Regions from separate parts of the Homo sapiens genome. Here all the other regions are linked to region 1. Evidence: promoter capture Hi-C in human tissues and cell types (Jung and others, 2019). All regions are on one chromosome and are shown on one strand. The core of a region is centred on a gene start or on the middle of the fragment in contact, and the rest is flanking DNA. Distances in the headings are between cores, read along the strand shown. Region 1 holds the start of CAPS (calcyphosine). Region 2 holds the start of PLIN3 (perilipin 3). Region 3 holds the start of DPP9 (dipeptidyl peptidase 9).

The links. The method cuts DNA at HindIII sites, captures the fragments that hold promoters and counts their contacts. A contact is called where the count stands out against the background at its distance.
Region 2: the fragment with the promoter of PLIN3 here is called in contact with the fragment with the promoter of CAPS in region 1 in 1 of the 25 tissues and cell types used here (heart right ventricle).
Region 3: the fragment with the promoter of DPP9 here is called in contact with the fragment with the promoter of CAPS in region 1 in 1 of the 25 tissues and cell types used here (stomach).

The regions. Positions count from the first base shown.
Region 1 is chr19:5,912,813-5,915,746 of GRCh38, reverse strand. CAPS (calcyphosine) reads right to left here and starts at 1,493. Exons shown (of 5, transcript NM_004058.5): 1 at 1,438-1,493; 2 at 1,258-1,362; 3 at 1,007-1,184; 4 at 601-807; 5 at 1-526. The coding sequence starts at 1,340. The coding sequence ends at 425. The HindIII fragment of the contact is 10,666 bases long and covers 1-2,934 here.
Region 2 is chr19:4,866,401-4,869,214 of GRCh38, reverse strand. It overlaps PLIN3 (perilipin 3), which reads left to right and starts at 1,548. Exons shown (of 8, transcript NM_005817.5): 1 at 1,548-1,606. RefSeq lists a silencer at 1,391-1,570 and enhancers at 1,788-2,288, 2,231-2,580. The HindIII fragment of the contact is 15,856 bases long and covers 1-2,814 here.
Region 3 is chr19:4,722,498-4,725,601 of GRCh38, reverse strand. It overlaps DPP9 (dipeptidyl peptidase 9), which reads left to right and starts at 1,760. Exons shown (of 22, transcript NM_139159.5): 1 at 1,760-1,928; 2 at 3,051-3,103. It overlaps TRG-TCC1-1 (tRNA-Gly (anticodon TCC) 1-1), which reads right to left and starts at 1,532; the gene lies at 1,461-1,532. TRV-CAC3-1 (tRNA-Val (anticodon CAC) 3-1) reads left to right here and starts at 895; the gene lies at 895-967. It overlaps LOC105372250 (a long non-coding RNA gene), which reads right to left and starts at 2,722. Exons shown (of 3, transcript XR_936274.2): 1 at 2,616-2,722; 2 at 893-982; 3 at 15-467. RefSeq lists silencers at 840-1,039, 1,490-1,579, 1,810-1,959. The HindIII fragment of the contact is 28,361 bases long and covers 1-3,104 here.

The DNA of each region.
Region 1 (2,934 bases), core at 244-2,743:
CACCTGGGCAGGTCTAAACTTCCTTCCAGGATGGCCTCCACACACAGCCTCCCACCTGGGGTCACCTGGCTTCCTGGGGGACCCGCAAGGGAGGGGCAGGGAGCAGCAGTCCGGGTGCGGGGATCGGGGGACCTCGGCGGGGGCATCCACAGGGGCTGCAAGATCTCTGGTCAGCATGGCGTGGGTGGGGAGAGCGTTTCTCCCTGGGGTCCTGAGCCAGTGACTCCTGTTAGGACCTTTGTCCCACCTCCGCCTGGTGGACCGGCAGGGACCTGGTCTAGCCAGTCCTGCAGCCTCCATTCCCCCACCTGCCCCTCCCCGCTCTGTGGTGTGGCTGCCCAGGAGAGAAGGGGCCCAGGGAAGGGAGGTCTCCGGCAGGGGTGGGGAGTGACAGGCCAGGGCAGCAGGGCTGAGCCGGAGCTGCTCACAGCTGCCAGGCACTGGTCATCATGGCCACGAACTCCTCATCCGTGTTCATGGAGGCACTCACGCCGCTGTAGTAGTCCTGGAATTCCGCCAGTGTGACCTGGGAACAGAGGGCCGTGAGGGGGCACGGCCGAGGAACTGCCTGGGGAGGGGGCCCCCCGCGCAGCCACCCACCTGCCCGTCCTTCTCAGAGGAGTCGAAGTTGTCCAGGAAGCGGCGCAGCACCTCGTCCTCGGTCCACTCCCCACTGCGCACCTTGGGGTGGGCACGGCCACTGTACACCCCGCGGAGGTCGTCCACCGTCACGACGCCGTCCCCACTGCGGTCCAGCTTGGCAAATGCAGCTGCGATGACAGCCTCCCGGGCCTGGGACATGGGGGGCTGGGACAGGAGGTGGTGACTGGGGGTGGTGGGTAGCACACCCAAACCCCCAAGACGCTGTGCAGAGCACTGGGGCTGTATGCCCCAGCAGGCGCCTCTTAACAGCAGCTCTTAGGGAGGAGTCCCCGTCTCCGCATCTCAGCATCCTCTGTCGCCCCATGCCCAGGGCACACGCCTTGACTGTGAGGTGGGGGCTCACCCGCAGCGCCCGAAGGAACTCCTCCAGATCCAGCGTCCCGCTGCCATTGCGGTCCCACTTCCTGCACACACCCTCTGCCTCCGCCTGGTCCAGCACCAGCCCGAGTTTGGCCAGACCCTGCCGGAACTCATCAGCGTCCAGGGATCTGCTCCCGTCCCGGTCTAGTTGGCGGAAAAACCTGGAGGCAGGGGACACGGTTGGAACAGTGGTCTCAGGGGCCGGGGTCAGGAAGGTGAGAGGGGACAGCTCACCTGGCCAGGCCCTGGATGCCCGAGGCCCCGCGGGACAGGCACTGTGCCCGGAGTTTCTCCATGGTGGCATCCACGGCGTCCATGCTTGGTCTGGGCTCTGGGCAGCTGGAAGGGAGAGAGGTCAAGGTGGGGACTCCCGCAAGCCCACCCTGGCCGACTGCCCCTTGTTCAGATGCTCACCTGGCCTGCGTCTGTCCCAGAGTCCTGCCTGCGGGGCCTTGTGTTAGCTGTGTTGTGCCTGGGGAGACTGTTGCTAGTGGAAGGTGCCTCTGGAGATGGGGTGGGGCCCAGCTGCATGAATGCACTGTGCTGGGCAGTGGGGAGTGGGGGAGGGATGGGTGCGCCCAGCCTGACTGCTTACTCAACTGCCAGCCCCACAGGGCCTGGGACAGAGCCAGATCCCTGTGGCACTGCATCCCTTCCTGGCTCCAAGGAGGAGGGGCAGGCCACTGCCCTGCAGGGGCTGAAATGCCCTGGATGGAGACAAGTCCGTGGCTGGGGAGGCTTGACGCATGATTCCTGTGTGACCCTGGACAGGTCCCTTTCCCTCTCTGGCTTCACAGGGGCTTCTCAGCCCGAGCCAGGGCTGACAAAATTGCTGAGGAATCAAAGTTCAAAAGGGCCCCAGGTTCTGACCGGCCACTGCGGCTCATGCCTGAAATCCCAGCACTTTGGGAGGTCTAGGTGGGAGGATCACTTGAGCCCAGGAGTTTGGACCAGCCTGGGGAACATATAGAGAACTTGTTTCTATTGTACAGCAACAAAAATGCCCCAGGTGGGCTGGGCGCGGTGGCTCATGCCTGTAATCCCAGCACTTTGGGAGGCCGAGGTGGGCAGATCACAAGGTGAGGAGTTTGAGACCAGCCTGACCAACATGGTGAAACCCCGCCTCTACTAAAAATACAAAAATTAGCCGTGCATGATGGTGGGCGCCTGTAATCCGAGCTACTTAGGAAGCTGAGGCAGGAGAATCGCTTGAACCCAGGAGGTGGAGCTTGCAGTGAGCCAAGATTGCACCACTGCACTCCAGTCTGGGCGACAGAGCAAGACTCCATCTCAAAAAGAAAAAAAAAAAAAAAGCCCCAGGTGGCCCAGGTCCTGGGGCCCTAAGACCTCCCACCCAGGCCCACCTCCAAGGGCAGGTCCTGCAACCCACAGAGACTGAGCTGAGCCTGAGGGACACCTCTGCTCACTGCCACAAAGCTTGTCACTGGCCGTTGTTAGGAGCCAGTCCCAGGATTTCTGTCTTTACGGATCTTTTGTTGTTGGTTTTCAGGCCTGAAACGTGACTTAGTGGGCTGGCTCCTGACAAGGTGGTGAGCCAGAGGTTGTGACCCCGAGTGGAAGAGCAGCCCTGATCCTGGACATAAACCTCAAGAGACGAAGCCACCTCACTGAAGGCCTTCAACGGAGACATCGGATATACCTGCCCGCTAAGATAGGTGGGTTTTCCAGGACTTGAAACGTGGGCCCTGTTTGAGGACCCACTGTTCGCCCCGACCCAAGGATCATCAATCGGAGCCTTCTCCAAGCCTGGCTTTACCTCGCTCACAGCACAATTATATTGTCAGAAGTTGCCTTGCCTGAGCGCGGTGGCTCATGCCTGTAATCCCAACACTTTGGGAAGCCAGGGCAGGAAGATCACTTGAGCCCAGGAGTTTGAGACCCGCCTGTGCA
Region 2 (2,814 bases), core at 299-2,798, 1.0 Mb after region 1:
GAGCGAGACTCTGCCTCAAAAAAAAAAAAAAAATTTAAACATTCAGCTTCTCACTGTGCATTAGCCACGTGGTGCTTTTGGCTACAATGTTGGATGGCACACAATTCTAGAATTGCAGAAAGTTCTATTGGACAGTGCTAGCATAGACCCTGTCCCCACTCACCCCCCCAAAAAAATGCAGTCACAGACACCCAATTTTTCCCATGTTCTTTCTAAAGCTACCAGAAGCTTCATTCTATTCAAATAATTTGGCAGAGGTGGCAAACTGGTGGCCCCTGGGCTGGACAAAGCCCCAGTTGGGTTTCATTTGGTCCAATTGTTCCCTAACAGGCAGGACATGTCTACAGCTTGAACTTCCTGTGGATCTGTGACTCTCCAGGTGGGTCTCCCATAGGGCACTGCTCTCCCCTGCCCCTCTAAGCAGGGCATCACTGCCACCTCCTCAGCAGAAATATTCACCTCCTCCCTGGACCATCTGAGATTGAGACCTTGGTTTATAGACCAAGAGGATAAATAATTTGGGAGGTGGAGAGGGGCGGGGTAAAATCCAAGTGGGGGCAGCTTCAGGAAAAGGTTGATCCAGCAGTCACAGAGCCTGGAGCCTGACCCCTCCATTGCCCCTGGCTGACCCTCTCCAGGCCTCAGTTTCCTTCTCTGCAAAATAGGGATGATTAAAAAGACAATACAGTGCTGGGAGGATGAAGTGGTCTGATGTTGGGCAGATCAGGCCGGAGGCTGGACAAGTTCCCGTGGTGGTTCAAGTCACTCATATAGCTGGGTTGGGCCGGGTGCGGTGGCTCATACCTGTGATCCCAGCAATTTGGGAGGCCCAAGCGGGCAGATCACTTGAGGTCAGGAGTTCAAGACCAACATGGTGAAACCCCGTCTCTGCTAAAAATACAAAAAATTAGCCGGGCGTGGTGGCACGTGTCTGTAATCCCAGCTACTCAGGAGGCTGAGGCAGGAGAATCGCTTGAATCCAGGAGGTGGAGGCTGCAGTGAGCCAAGGTCGCGTCACTGCACTCCAGCCTTAGCGACAGAGCGAGACTGTGTCTCAAAAAAAAAAAAAAAGTGTGTGTGTGTGTGTGTGTGTGTGTGTGTACATATAGCTGAGTCGGAGCCCATGGTGGAGGGCGTGGCCCCTGACGCGCTGGCGAGGGTCACCCTGCAACTCTCCCAGGGTTCTCGCAGCCTCAGTTTGGCCATAGGGGAAATGGGCGACCTGGGGAATCCCAGCACCTGTGCGGCGCCCCCGATCGCACTCACCTCCCAGGGCCAACTTCACAGGGTCCCCAGCTGCGGAGCGGGGGTCCCGTGGCTGGGACAGGCGTGGTCCAAGAGTGCTCCCTCCCCTTCAGGGGCAGGGCGTGGAGTCCTTCCCGGACTTCATGACTTGGCGAGGGGCGGGGCCTAGTGGAGGCGGGGCAGGGAGGAGAGGGGCGGGCCTGGCGCGGGCAATCCCTCAACCTGATTGGTCCCCTCGCCCGTCACTCCAGTGCGCCCCCAACCTACCACGCAGTAAAAGCCACCCCCGCCTCGGCCCGGACGGTTTCCAAGCTGGTTTTGAAGTCGCGGCAGCTGTTCCTGGGACGTCCGGTTGACCGCGGTGAGTGGCGGGGGCGTCTCAGTTGAGCTGGGGGGCGGTGTCCATGGAGTCCTGGGGCACCCCAGGGGCCGGAGGGGTCGGGGAGGGCCTTTCTCGGGGTGGGATTTGCTGGACTCTGCGGCCTGGGGAGGGGTCTTCAGCCCAGGCTGGTCACCCCTCCCCCCAGAAAAATCCAACTTCTGCAACGAAGCTCAGACTTTGAAACCCTCTTCTCACTTCCTGGGACTTTTGAGGGGCGAAAGAGCCCCGTAGAAGGGGTGATATTGAAGGGGGTGGGCTAAATACCGCCCCCCGCCCACCAGGTTTTCTCTAAATTTTGAACAGTTTGCTTTTGGAAACGCCATTTGCAGGCAAGTTTCCTCCTGCGGGCAGAATCTCCGCCCTCCCTTCTGGGGTTTTCAGAGACACCCCCCGCCACCGCAAAGCCCCCTCCCCTACAGATGGTTTTGCCACGGGTGGGGGTGGGGGTTGCCCCAGCTCCTGGCGCCCCCAACTGATTCTGGGGAGGTCTTGGGCAAAGCCTGCCCACTTCCCTCGGGTGGGCGTGGCGACGAGGTGGCTTAAAAGTAGGAAGGCCTATCCGTTAACTGCTTTGGGGTTCTTGTCCCGGCTAGGCCTGGCAGTGGGACCTGGGGCCCTTGGAATTTTGGAAGTCCAGTCTTAGCATGCTCTGAAGTTGCTGGATGGCTGGGTCTGGCCTGGAGCTCCCCTTCTGGAGCCAGCGGCAAGGCAGGTCACTGACCCCCAGGGGTTTCATAGGGTGTTGACATCTGCCATGGCCACCCTTGCTTAAACCAGTTCCAGGAAGTCATGGTGGACAGAGGGGACGGGAGGAAGCTGCCTGAGTCCTAAGTGGGACTTGAGAATCGGTCGAGGCCAGGAGTTTGATGCCTGCCTACCTGGCCCCCTGCCCAGGTGAGCTCAGGCTCCAAAGGAGGTGAGGAGAAGCACAGATTTAGGCAATGATCACTGGGAGGTAGGTATGTCTTCTCACCTGACTTCCCAGTTGGGGGACTTTTGTACCTAGCAGGAAGCTGGTTCCTGGCTGGCTTTACCCCTTTGTCCGTGGAAGCCAGAGTGCGGTGAGATAGTTTATGGAGCACTTACTATGTGCCGGGCACGGATCTGAGCTTCCCCGGAGCAGCGTCTCCTCCAGTCCACAGGGACTCCAGGCTCTTGTGAAACACTTATACACATTTCACAGATGT
Region 3 (3,104 bases), core at 511-3,010, 1.2 Mb after region 1:
TTGCGCTACTACATTCTAGCCTGGGCAACAGGAGCAAAACTCCATCGGAAGGTAAACACATACACACACAGTTTTTCTTTTCAGAAAGCTCTTTTACAGTGTAGTTGGGGTCGGGCGCGGTGGCTCATGCCTGTAATCCCAGTACTTTGGGAGGCTGCAGGCGGGCGAATCACGTTGAGGTCAGGAGCTGGAAAGCAGCCTGGGCAACATAGTGCAGGCCCTCTAGTCTCTACAAAAAATACAAAAGTTAGCTGGGAGTGGTTGCACACGCCTGTAGTCCCAGCTATAAGGCACCGTCTCTACAAACGCATTTTTTAAAATTCAGCCAGGCGTGGTGGTCCACACCTGTGGTCCAAGCTACCCAGGAGGCTGAGGTGGGAGGATCGCTTGAGCCCAGGAGGTGGAGGCTGCAGGGAGGGATGATCGTACCACTGCACTCGAGCCTAGGCGACAGAACGAGACTCTCTCTAAAAAATACAAAAAACAAAACACACAAAAAAGTAGTTTGATCTAAAGCAAAATGGTGAATATCTGCAGAAACTAATGTGATATCAAGTATAGATTGATATCTATGAGATGAAAAGCTTCATTTGACCCCGGATGGGTTTGTGGGCCGTTTGACGTGCATTGTTTTAATGGAAGGTGGATTTATGATAAAGTGATAAACATGTGTGTGGGTGGGTGGGTGTGTTGGAAAGGGTGTTTATTGGATTTCTTTTTGTCTTCCTTATTTTCCTTCTTTCGGTCTCTACTGTATCAAATACAATAACAGATATTCAGGAAGAGCGGATATTGCTTTAGCTGACTGTAGCCAGTGTTTCTTTGGTGGGACAACGCAACTATCACTGCAACATTATCTCTATAGGAGAATTTAAAGAACCCTGACGCCTACCGGTTTCCGTAGTGTAGCGGTTATCACATTCGCCTCACACGCGAAAGGTCCCCGGTTCGATCCCGGGCGGAAACAGGTCAGCTGTTTTTCCTAACCGGAGAGTAATACTATTTGAAATTCACCGAAAGAACGATTCTAGTCCCATTCTTTCTCTTCCGCCTTCCTCCTGCCTTTTAGACATTTTTATGGGATTTAAAAAAATTTTCCGTGATTGATGGCTCACGCCTGTAATCCCAGCACTTTGAAAGGCCGAAGAGGGCGGATCACCTGAAGTCAGAGTTCGAGACCAGCCTGGCCAAAATGGTGAACCGCCCCCCCCCCCCCACCCCGCCCCACCCCGCCCCACCCCACCCCATCTCTACTAAAAATACAAAAATTAGATGGGCGTGGTGGCGTGCGCTTGTAATCACAGCTACTTGGGAGGCTGAGGCAGGAGAATCGTTTGAACCTGGGAGGTGGTGGTTGCAGTGAGCGGAGATCACGCCACTGCACTCCAGCCTGGGGGACCGAGCGAGACTCCGTCTCAAAACTAAAATGAAAATTTCAAACTCGCAAAAGTGGTACCGCATGCGTTGGCCGGGAATCGAACCCGGGTCAACTGCTTGGAAGGCAGCTATGCTAACCACTATACCACCAACGCCCTGATAGGTAGCATCCTCTCCGGATATCCTTAATAGTGGGGGATCATGGGTTTGACTGAGTGATACCAAGTCACAGGGGGGTGTCTCTCCCTAACCCACCGGAAGATGTCGTTCATGGGGCGTTACGCACCTTAGGCCGCCGCGCCGCGGGCTCCCCCCCAAGCGCCGCGGACGCCTTGGTACGTGCCTGGTGGTGTCCAATCCCAGGCCGCCGCCTGGGTCGCTCAACTTCCGGGTCAAAGGTGCCTGAGCCGGCGGGTCCCCTGTGTCCGCCGCGGCTGTCGTCCCCCGCTCCCGCCACTTCCGGGGTCGCAGTCCCGGGCATGGAGCCGCGACCGTGAGGCGCCGCTGGACCCGGGACGACCTGCCCAGTCCGGCCGCCGCCCCACGTCCCGGTGAGCAGCGCCCGCGCGCCTCGTCCCGCCCCGGCCGCGACCCTGAACCCGCCATTGACCGGCCCCGCCTCGGCCCTGACCCTGCCCTCGCCATCGCCTGGCCTCCCCGCACCCCGGAGCCTCCATGCACCCGTCTGTGGGTCCCTCCGGCCCCCTGCCTCGTTTCCTCTCCGCCCCAGGCCCTCCTCCACCTTCTTTCCCTCCCCGATTCCTGCGCTGGCCAGGCCACCTCCCAGTTTCTCCCCTTCCCTGATGGGCTTCCCCACCCATCCCGTTGCTGCCCAGGCCACCAGGCTCTGACCCCTTCCGGAGGTGGCCGCACCCAAGAACGTCCTCGTAGCTGCAGACCTTGACACCCTCTCCCCTTTCGTGCAGGCTCTGGAGGTCCCGATCTCCTCCCTCTCCCCATGCAAATGCTGTATATGCACAGAGGCCACCTCCCTCGACCTGCATCCTGTCCTCACTCCTTTACCACTTCCTCCAACCTTCGCCCCGAGGCTTGGTCTCCCCAATCCAGTCCTGATCCTCAACCCTACTTGATCCCTCTATTAAGGGTATCCAGAGACTCTTTTTCCTGCCGAGGCGTTGGTGGTGTAGTGGTTAGCATAGCTGTCTTCCAAGGGTCCAGCCCACAGGGTTCAGCCCCCTTCTCTCAGCCTCCCTTCTCAGGCCTGTCCAACCGCCTACCTTCTTCCCACACAGCCTTAGGCCAGCCCTGACACTTCCCTGTTCACGCTGCCTCTGAGCCATCAAAAGTGGTCTATTCCCTTGGCCCCCACCCCCTGGTCTTCCCCAGGGGCCCCAGGAGGAAGTCACTTGCCTCCCAGGCAAGAACCAACCTGCTTTCGAGGAGCTGGGACTAAAGCCCAGGGGGTGTGGACCGTAGGCACCAATCCCTGCATTCCTCTGCTGGGTCCCAGGGGAATCGGGGCCCGTGGGATGGCTTCTCTCCCAGATTCTGTCCAGGGCATGCAGACAGTGCTGCAGGGCTTCAAGGCAGAGCTAGAATCTAGCCAGGTAGAATCGGGCCTGACAGTCTGCAGCTCCTGAGTGGGGGAGGCTGAACGGCTGGCCGGTGCTTCCATTAACCTGCCACATTCATGACATGTTTATCCTATAAAGGTCTGTGTCCCACGCCTGCAGCTGGAATGGAGGCTCTCTGGACCCTTTAGAAGG